2 separate regions of the Homo sapiens genome follow, and region 2 is linked to region 1. The links are contacts of gene promoters, found by promoter capture Hi-C in human tissues and cell types (Jung and others, 2019). All regions are on one chromosome and are shown on one strand. Each heading gives the region's core, a stretch centred on a gene start or on the middle of the fragment in contact. The rest is flanking DNA. Distances are from core to core; before and after follow the strand shown. Region 1 holds the start of MMP21 (matrix metallopeptidase 21). Region 2 overlaps EDRF1 (erythroid differentiation regulatory factor 1).

What was found. The method cuts DNA at HindIII sites, captures the fragments that hold promoters and counts their contacts. A contact is called where the count stands out against the background at its distance.
Region 2: a contact is called between a fragment that was not itself captured here and the fragment with the promoter of MMP21 in region 1, in 2 of the 25 tissues and cell types used here (mesendoderm cells and pancreas).

What each region holds. Positions count from the first base shown.
Region 1 is chr10:125,771,917-125,777,290 of GRCh38, reverse strand. It overlaps MMP21 (matrix metallopeptidase 21), which reads left to right and starts at 1,470. Exons shown (of 7, transcript NM_147191.1): 1 at 1,470-1,631; 2 at 2,926-3,460; 3 at 4,541-4,680; 4 at 4,932-5,073. The coding sequence starts at 1,470. The HindIII fragment of the contact is 11,499 bases long and covers 1-5,374 here.
Region 2 is chr10:125,729,399-125,734,563 of GRCh38, reverse strand. EDRF1 (erythroid differentiation regulatory factor 1) reads right to left here. Exons shown (of 25, transcript NM_001202438.2): 8 at 5,085-5,165; 9 at 4,165-4,276; 10 at 1,013-1,160; 11 at 821-929; 12 at 381-492. Among named protein-coding and RNA genes, the nearest start is that of EDRF1, 12 kb to the right of the region's middle. The HindIII fragment of the contact is 4,632 bases long and covers 1,279-5,165 here.

The sequences.
Region 1 (5,374 bases), core at 221-2,720:
AAACAGGGTCTCATTCTGTCATCCAAGTTGTTGTGCAGTGACGTGATCTCGGCTCATTTCAGTCTTAACCTCCTGGACACAAGTGATCCTCCAGCCTCAGCTCCCCTAAGTAGCTGGAACTATTGGCACGCATGCCACTACACCTGGCTAATTTTTGTATTTTTAGTAGAGATGGGGTTTCATCATGTTGCCCAGGCTGGTCTTGAACTCTTGCTGGTCTTGAACTCCTGGATTCAAGCAATCCACCCACCTTGGTTTCCTAAAGTGTTGGGATTATAGGTGTGAGCCACCACGCCCGGCCGATGCCAAGCTAATTTTTAAACATTTTTTGATAGAAATGAGGTCTCATTTTGTTGCCCTTGCTTGTCTCAAACTCCTGGCCTCAGTCCTCCTGCCTCAGCCTCCCGCAACGCTGGGATTATGGGTCTGAGCCACTGCACCTGGCCTCTCCGTATTTCTATGATTCTCAATATTCCCATGGACGGCTGTGACCCAGTCAGTCTGCACTCTCAGGAGGACATCTGCTCAGATAAAAGCCCAGTTCAGGGGCTCTGTCTTCAGGATCCCAAAGAAACTTGAGGCTTCTCCATGAGGGGAAAAAGTAGTGGGCTGAGGTGATTCTAGTTTATCCTTCTATAAAAATCTTTACCCACAGAATGGGACGCTGTGCAGTCATTAACTAGAACGATAAATACTTACATTCAGAAACAGAAAAGTGCCTGTAACGTTGTGCTGGCTTGTAAGAACAGAGAATAGAGTTCATGTAAAATGAGAGACACACACAAATACTTCTCTAGGCATCTGTGCATATGTATCTGCAAGAATGTTCACTGAAATGTCACCACCGGAATCACAGAATGTCTCCTTCATTCTCAGTACTTTTACAATTTATACTATCTGCTCAGAAGATCTCCTTTATATAAAGATAAACAAAAAGAAGAAAAGCCACACAAAAAATGTGTGAGAAACAAACTAAAAATCTCCAAACCCCAGTTCACCAAGAAAAAAAAAGTGACCCAAACTGTAAGCAAACTAACGGTCAGGGTTTTTAAACTCAGGCTCAGCTCTGAGAGGCATGTTGTTAGGGGCGCAGTCTCGTGCCTCTGTTAATTCCACAGCTCATTTAGCGGCAAACTTGCCCGCAGTATATCTCCATAGAAATGGAACCCACAGGCACTGGCAACTGGAGGATGTAATTATCGGAGGACATGGCAAACTCTGGAGGCTGAGAGAAGGAGTTCTCACACCAACAAGAAAGGTGAGCCTGGGGTCTTCAAAGGCAGCACGCCCAGGGCCTGCCACGTGGCCTCCTAGCGGGCACACTTCAGGGCTGGGTGAGAAATGCTTGGAAACCTGGGTGCTCCCTCCTGCGTAGCTTATAAAAGCCACCCTAGGTCCTGCTCCTTAAGGAGAGGTGACGGGGACGGGGAAGAAGCCAGGCAGGGAGGGCAAGGGTTCAGACCAGGCCAATGCTCGCCGCCTCCATCTTCCGTCCGACACTGCTGCTCTGCTGGCTGGCTGCTCCCTGGCCCACCCAGCCCGAGAGTCTCTTCCACAGCCGGGACCGCTCGGACCTGGAGCCGTCCCCACTGCGCCAGGCCAAGCCCATTGCCGACCTCCACGCTGCTCAGGTAGGAGGAAGCTGGAAGAACAGCAATACCCCCAGGCCCGTGCACGTGCACACAGGCACATGCGCACGCGCGCACAGGCACAGGCCAGGATGCCGGCTGTGCAGAGGCAGAGAAGGGCCAGGCAGGCTGGGCTGAGAGGGAGGAGTGGCTCCTGTGGCTCCTATTGGAACAACCATGAATCGATGCTTAACCTGATTCGACAATCCCACAGGTCAGCCCTAGTGAGAAAGAAATGTCAGTGCGCAGACAACAGACTCAAATGCCAAGTGCCTTTCCAAAGGCAAGCATGTGATACTGTAGTGGCCAAGGCACTGTCCGAAGGCATTCTGTGGCTGCTCACCATGCCAATCTCTGGATGTAGAGAAGGGGACAGCCCTGCAAGGTTCCCCAACACCGCAATAGTAAGGATCCTAACAGCTGTCTGGGGTGGCATCCGTGGACTTCACCGGAGTCTGTGGTGAAGCACCCAGGAGGTCCAATGCAGGCGATCCCCTCCTCCAGAGAGTCGTGGTGGCGGGCAGGGAGTGGACCCATGAGGCCCCTTCACCTGCTCTGGCACGTGGTCCTTTGGTCACCATAGGCCAGGAGCTGATGCTCAGGGTCAAGTCCAATCCCCAGCTCCCACAGTGCCCCAGAGGCCAGGGCAGGGAGCAGGAGAGCCGCCCTGTGGCCAGGCCCGCAGCCGCGTGGAGGCCGCTGACCTCCCTCCCGCTGTGCGGCCATGAGGAAGCCCCCCAGGTCCTCAGACCCAACCACTGCCAAGCCCCTCAGTTCCAATTCCCAGCTCTCAGGACGTGCCTCCCATGGCTTTCTCTGCGGTGTGGCCACGCCCGGACTTCCTTGGCACCCCCCACCTGCCCCGCACGACCTGCCCTGCGCGACCTGCCCCGCAAGGCCGGGGGGAGCGTCTTCCTCCCCCGCGACCTCTTACCTCCTCCCGGCACTCGCCCACCCCGCTGCCCAGGTCTCCTGCTCCTCCGGCCCTAGGGCGCCTCTGACTCAGCCTGGTGCCCATCCAGGGCCCGCACTCAGGAAGGCGCCCAGGACTCGCTCCTTCTCTCCTGTCTACCTCTCTCCTGTCTCTGTCTCTCACTGCCGCTCTCTCTGTATCTCTATCTCTCTCTGTCTTCCTGTTTCTATTGCTATCTCCATCTGTTTCTCCCTGTCTGTCTCTCTGCTTCTCTCTGTCTCTGTCTCTATCCCCATGTCTCTGTCTCTCTAGACTTTGGGGCAGGGCAGCCCGGGAGGGCCCCGAGCGAGGCGGCCCAGATTAGGGTGCCTTTCTCTCCCACAGCGGTTCCTGTCCAGATACGGCTGGTCAGGGGTGTGGGCGGCCTGGGGGCCCAGTCCCGAGGGGCCGCCGGAGACCCCCAAGGGCGCCGCCCTGGCCGAGGCGGTGCGCAGGTTCCAGCGGGCGAACGCGCTGCCGGCCAGCGGGGAGCTGGACGCGGCCACCCTAGCGGCCATGAACCGGCCGCGCTGCGGGGTCCCGGACATGCGCCCACCGCCCCCCTCCGCCCCGCCTTCGCCCCCGGGCCCGCCCCCCAGAGCCCGCTCCAGGCGCTCCCCGCGGGCGCCGCTGTCCTTGTCCCGGCGGGGTTGGCAGCCCCGGGGCTACCCCGACGGCGGAGCTGCCCAGGCCTTCTCCAAGAGGACGCTGAGCTGGCGGCTGCTGGGCGAGGCCCTGAGCAGCCAACTGTCCGTGGCCGACCAGCGGCGCATTGTGGCGCTGGCCTTCAGGATGTGGAGCGAGGTGACGCCGCTGGACTTCCGCGAGGACCTGGCCGCCCCCGGGGCCGCGGTCGACATCAAGCTGGGCTTTGGGAGAGGTAAGAGCACCCCGGGCTCCCTGCCTGCCCGACCCAGCCCCTCGGGGACCCCGGCGCACCTACCCCCACCTCGGCCACCTGCAGAATGGGGGGCTAAGCCCTCCCGGCCTGTCCCGGGGGCACCTGTCAGCGGGGCAGGCAGAAGCCACCGGTCAGCGTCGTCTTGTCGGAATCATGGTCACCCTGCAGATAGCCTGGTGTGGCCTACTGGGACACTAGGGCCGGCCCTGGGCACAGGCTGCTGCCCGGGCTGCTCCTCAAAGTCCCACTCGGGCCCCCTGCCTGTGCCTCCAGCTTCCCTAGGGAGCAGCAGCTGGGGTCTCAGGACAGGGCAGGGTCAGGCACAAGTTGCCACCACCTCCGTCTTACAATTGGACAAATGCGGGACAAAATACCTTGGACGTCTAGCAACAGAAGTGTTTTTAAGGGGCAGACCAAGCAGAAGAGGATCACTGCCACCTGAAATTGGGTGCTGGCGTCCCCAGGAATCCGGTCTTGGCCTAGACTCAAGGATGGGTGGGATCTGGGATACCCACAAAAAGGCACCCAGAATGGAGAGTGGGTGAGGGCATGGAAGTGGTCAGAGACAAGCAGCAAGCAGACAAGCCGCTTTGCAGCCCCATCTGTGACCCGGGGGTGCTCAGGGCTGTCTTCTGGTCTCACTGGGTTAATGTCCCAGGGTGAGAAGTATAGGGACACGGTTGGCTGAAAAAGACAAATTTTAAGGGACCCAGCTTTCAATATTTCACGACCTCCGCAGAGGCGAGGATCCGGCCCCGATCTTGTCCGGGTGAGGCCTTTTTGCCATCTTCCCAGGCCCCCAGCCGGGCTCTCACCCAGCCCCGCTCCCCTCTGCTCCCAGGCACTTGGTGCCTGCTGGTCTCTGACAGTCTGTGGACTGTAAACACAGTTTACAAACAAACCGTCTCCCACCCTCCGCACATTGAGGACTTAATCCAGGAGCTGCCACTCTGTCTACCTCTGCTGCCGGCTCCTGGAGGCTGGGGACCCCCTAGGTGAGGAGTCTGTATGGGGGGCACTCATCCTTCACCGGGACCAACTCCTCCTCCCCCTCGCCAGGCCGGCACCTGGGCTGTCCGCGGGCCTTCGATGGGAGCGGGCAGGAGTTTGCACACGCCTGGCGCCTAGGTGACATTCACTTTGACGACGACGAGCACTTCACACCTCCCACCAGTGACACGGGCATCAGCCTTCTCAAGGTCAGTGGTCCTGAGCCACTGTGTTGATAAGACACCAGCAGTGCTCATGGGCTGACGTCCAAAAAGTCCAAGCTTTTCTCATGTAGTGTCCGCAACCTCTGAGGAGGTGAATCCGTGGAATGGCTCCCCAGTTCCACCGGTGCTCCCCTCTTCACAAGCAACGCTCCTCTCGAAGCACAGGCCTGCGTCTGTTATGCAGGGATCCATCGCCCAGGCTTCACCCAGCACCCATGGTGTGTGTCCCCTTCTAGGTGGCCGTCCATGAAATTGGCCATGTCCTGGGCTTGCCTCACACCTACAGGACGGGATCCATAATGCAACCAAATTACATTCCCCAGGAGCCTGCCTTTGAGTTGGACTGGTCAGACAGGAAAGCAATTCAAAAGCTGTATGGTAAGACTGCTGCGGAGGGCATCCCTGAGCTAGCGGAGGACACTGTATTCCAGAGCACTGTAGGACCCCGCTCACTCCTCACTGGGAAACTGGGCCTAAGAGCGCAACGTTGTACAACTCATGTCACCCAAGGGTAGCCACCCTCTAGCTCCCTGATGCCATTCTCTCAGTTAAAAAGTGGTTTTGCCCAGTCGACAGCCAGTCCCTCCTGTGTCCTCTCTCACCACATGCATTTCCCAGGAGGACAGTGAATGCGGGGTGGTTTTCTCAACACAAGCGGGCCCCCAACCCGTGCTGTGGC
Region 2 (5,165 bases), core at 2,345-4,844, 45 kb after region 1:
AAATTCATTGAGCAGTGCTGTCTGAGAGAAATGTAACATGAGTCACATACAGAAATTTTAAATTTTCTAGTAGCTACATTTAAAAAGTAGAATCTGTGAAATCAACTTAAATATATTTAATCCAATATATGTAATATTGCATTTCAACATGTAATAGGTACAGACATCCAATCTTCAAAATTCAGTGTGTATTTTACACTTACAGCACATGTCAATTCAGACAAAGCACATTTTAAGTGATCAACAGCCACATGTGCTAATGGCTACCACACTGAATAGGGCAGTTACGGAATATGAATCAGGAGGCTTTACTGTCTAGGTAACAATCTCCTATTAGAATGCTAGGATTGTTTTAGAGAATACATAAATGTTAATCTTACTTGAGGATGCCTACTTTTGTCCAGTAATTTCAGACAATTAAGAAGCAATGTTCTAATAGTTCCATAGTGTTTCTTATTTTGATTCTTCTTCATCATCATGTTGCAAGCAACCCTAAAAAAAGAGTTTATATCAACTTTACTGCCCATTTCATCGTTGTCTGCAAGACTCAAGTCTAGGAGTGCTCTTGTTTCTTTCCAACAAAGAGCTATAAGAAACAACAAAATACTAAACTTTACACTTTACCCACAACCCCCAAAACGTTTATACTATGGTGGCATAAGAAAGCTGAGTAATATTTGGTACAATGTGTACGTGTATTTTTCCCCCTACTATGAAAACCTAAAAGCATTTAAAAGCCTTGGTTTGGAAACTGTGACTGTATGCTTTAAAACTTTATATAATAGGCTACTTCTTCATCTTAAATTCTTAAAGCACTCACTTGTACAAGAGAATGGCTACCGGCATTGTGAATGGATTTTGGTATTTGTCTTCAGTTTCTTCACAAAGAGTAGTGAGGTCATAGAGCTTCACTATATCGCTGCCACTTGCTGAAAAGAAAAACAAAGAAGACTCATTTCACAGCAGTTACCCAAATCAATTATTGTTCACTCAAGAAGTATTAATAGCTTACCTTTAAAGAGCCAATAGGTATGTCCTTCTTTGGTACAATTAGATTTCAAAAATGATAAAATATTCTGTGCAATGTCTTTTATGACTTTAGTAGAAAAATTAGAATTTTCCAAATTGGGAATTTCTTCTGTCTTTATCATTTCATATTTCTGTAAAATACAGACAGATGGAAAGCAGTTTAAGAGAAAACCCAAGGAAACAACACCTTTCTTTTTAAAAAGCAACCAAATGCAGAAGTCCTGCAAACAGAGACCTATGTAGCATGAAAGTGTTTAAACCAGTGGTTTTTAATCTTTTTTCTGCCCCAGCCTCCCAAAGGAATCTCATCCACCCCATCAGCAAGGGCAGTTCACTATTGGAGTAATTTCAATGGAGAATCACTACCAGATTTAGAACCTCAGATTCAGGCATGATCTTATTTCTGTTCTAACATGGAACAAATCATACTGACTACTTTTATTCCACTTGAATGGTTTTCAACTGGGAAGATGGTAAATGAAGGTAGGCTTTACCCAGCAAGATTTTAAAACACATGTATTTCTGGCCTTTTTTTTTGCTAGAAACTACAGTCAGTGACTCAAGGAGAGAGAATCATTTAGGAAATTTTCCAGTAGACACCTCTCTTCCCTTCATCTATGGACTTTATTACTTCACAGGGATGGAGCAGGGGGGAATGGAGGTGGCAATAAGAGTAAAGGCTTCATGGACATTACTACCACTATTTTAAAAGTGCCTTTGCATTTTTCTTGTTTATCTTCTGTGCACACTCTCCTAACCATCTCCTACCACATTTTCTGAAGTACTCTAAAACTGGAAACTTCAAATCAACTGGAATGTAAGACCAAACACAATCGTCTGAGGTTGATTTTCACCCCACTTTGTTCATGTGAAGTCCCCAATGTTGATTATTTCCTTCCTTAAAATGCTCCTTTCCTGTATTTTAATCTGTGCTATTCTTGTTCTCCTTCTCTCTCTCTAAATGCCCTTCTATTTTTACCCCTATGAGGAGAGGCTCCAATGTCTGATTTTAATAGATTCCTCTGGTGATGAAATCTGACAGTATCTAGGCAGATGATGCTTCAATTTATTTCTCTAATGGCTGCAACTTCAAAATGCTCACTAGACATTTTTATACTTTCCTCAAACTGAACATGTGACAAAAACATATTACCTTCCCTGTCTAAACCAATTCAACATCCTTATCTCACTAAATGGCACCACCATTATTCTAGTCCCTAAACCCTGGAATCTCCTTTGACTCCTGTTCCCCTCCGCCTTGCTAACGCTTTATCTGCCTCTCTCTTTTCTCTTGCTCCCCACTCCCACCCCAGCCTCTCACTAAATGTTGCCATTTAGGGAGATGGTCTAACAGTGGTTTTCAATCAAGACTGCAAACCAGAATCATACAGCAGACTTTCAGAAAAGACAGAAGTACACATCCTACTGATACTAGAACACTGGGGGCCCAAGCAAGTGCATTTTTTCAGAGACCACAAGTGATTCTGATGCACAACCAGGTTAAGAATCACTGGGTTGGAATATAACGGTTCAAAGCATGTCCTCAGCCAGAGAGAGGCACAAAGACTGGCACCGCCACTCACTACTAAGTTGACCCTGGGCAACTCACTTGAGCTCCTTGATCCTCAGTCTCTCTTTCCATCAAATAGGAATAACAGCATGTGAGGTAGCTAAGAAGATCAAATAAGGTAAAGCATTTAAAGCATTCAGCAAAGTGCTTGGATAAAATAAGCACTCAATAAATGCTATCTATTCTTACCATTGTTGATTCTTAATAGTTCCTCTCTAGTGGAAAGTACATTACACTATCTGCAAAATGGTACAATGCCTCTGGTTTTCTTGTCTCTAAGTCCTCCTTTTCTGTCCTATATGCTATCTCTAAATTAATATTCTAACACAACAAATTTCCCCTCCTAGATGCAAAGCCTTCTGATTCCAGATTACCAACTGAACCAAGTCCATACTCCTTAGCTCAACATTTAAGATCTCCATCATTTGACCATGACTTTTCCAACCTTACTTGCAGCTATTCTGCTACATAAATCCTGTGTTCCCTAGCTGGATTTATTATCAATCCTTTCATGTATTTACACTAGACTTTTAAAATCCAGCTCTTATTTTTTGAGATACTAGCTATCATTCAGGACTCAGTTAAGATGTCCCTTCTTCCACAAAGTCTTTCCTCCAGACCTGAATGGAAGTGCTCACCCCCTTCTCTGATGATCTAGATTTCTGTGTGCTACACTTCTAATTCTTATCTGTCTCCTACTGTTCTCTCTGCATATTATTTCCCATTAGATTATCTCTTTCTGAATAACAACCAAGCTTATTCTTTGTTTTCCTTCAACAATTATTTATTGTTTAAATTCTCAATTTTTTTATTTTTTTGAGACAGGGTCTTGCTCTGTCACTCATACTGGAGTGCAGTGGCACGATCATAGCTCACTGCAGCCTCAAACTCCTGGGCTCAAGTGATCCTCCTGCTTCAAGCCCCCAAGTAGCTGGGACTACAGACATGTACCACCATGCCCAACTAAGTGTGTGCGTTGTTTTTCTACAATTAGGGTCTCACTACGTTGCCCAGGTTGGTCTTGAACTCTCGGCTTCAAGTGATCCTGCTGCCTCAGTCTCCTGAGTAGCTTGGGATTACAGGAATAAGCCAACACGCCTAGCTTCCCCCAACACTTATAATGGGGATACGTGTCTTCTAAACAGAATATGCTCAATAAGAATTTGCTATATAAGCTATCCACCATATGCAATTTTTACAAGACCTTTCCCTAAAACTTTGCATGTACTGAGTAGATATTTGCATAACGAAGAAACGCCTCCATTGTGTAGACACTTTCAGTTAATTATTAATGAGAGCTTGGCATTAAAATTAGAGTTCTATGGCTACAAATGCAGGTTTTCATATATTTATGAACTTCCTCCAAATTACCTGTAAAATTATACTTCTATAACATCTACAATTCTGTTATCACCAACTTAAATGTACACTCAAATTCAGTTTATTCACAGCTATCTTCCCTGGCAAAAATGCACCTTAGTACTTCAGGGCCGTAAAGACTTTGGTGAGGAACTCTCTGTACCAATTTGCATTTGAGAGATCAGAAAAATCACACTGTATCTTACCTGTACAATTCCATTTACATGAAAACACATCACAAGCTCTGGCACATTGCATATCAAGTTGTCCAACCAATAGTCAATTCCAGTTAGCACATTAATTGGTTTGTTGTTATCCCTAAAAATATACATTTCTAGTGTTATTTGGTTTAATTAAGATGTTCCTTAATTAATCATCTGAAAGTTATTTCACCATTTAAGTATCTTAAGCTGTCCTCTCTAGATAGAAAATGCCATCTATGCTTTCTTTTCTGATAAGATATGCACATGCAGCTCAGTGGTTGTGCTATATTTAACATCTTTCCAAAAGCTTGCTTGTATTTCTAACTGACATTGGTAAGTTTTCAGTAAGAATAGAAGACAATATAATAGGAAAGGACGGTGAGCCTACTGCCTGCTCCTCACACACAACTTGAAGAAAGACTGAACACCATACAAGACCATGCTTAAGTTGGAATTCACATTGGCTAATATCAACAAATACACGTGGAGCATTAAGAAAAATGCTCACAAGTAGTTAGTAGGAATCTAACTAATTAAATAAACTCTCTTGAATATTCTCACAAGTTGTAGATTCAGACCTAAGACTAGGCCAGTCCAACAAACCTCTGGCTCTATTCAATGAGGTCTAGAATGAAGACTCAGCTATAGGCCTGCCTTTCAGCATCTGCTGACAGTAGCTCCTTCCTTAATGTGGCCATTTCAACTGGCAGGGGAAGGAGGGAGGGGAAAAAACCTAGAGAAAGAGGAAGATGCCCAAATAGATGGAACACTGATTCTTTTTTGAGACGAGTCTTGCTCTTTCGCCTAGGCTGGAGTGCGGTAGCATGATCTTGGCTCACTGCAACCTCAGTCTGATGGAACACTGATTCTAAAGGAAGAATTTAAATACCATAAGCTTGAGGAGGGGTATGATGTTAGTTCACCTGAGACGTAAGCTGACTGCTGGGTATCTGCCTCCTCCAAATATGGGCATGTTGGAGCCGACCAACATATGGATATCTTCA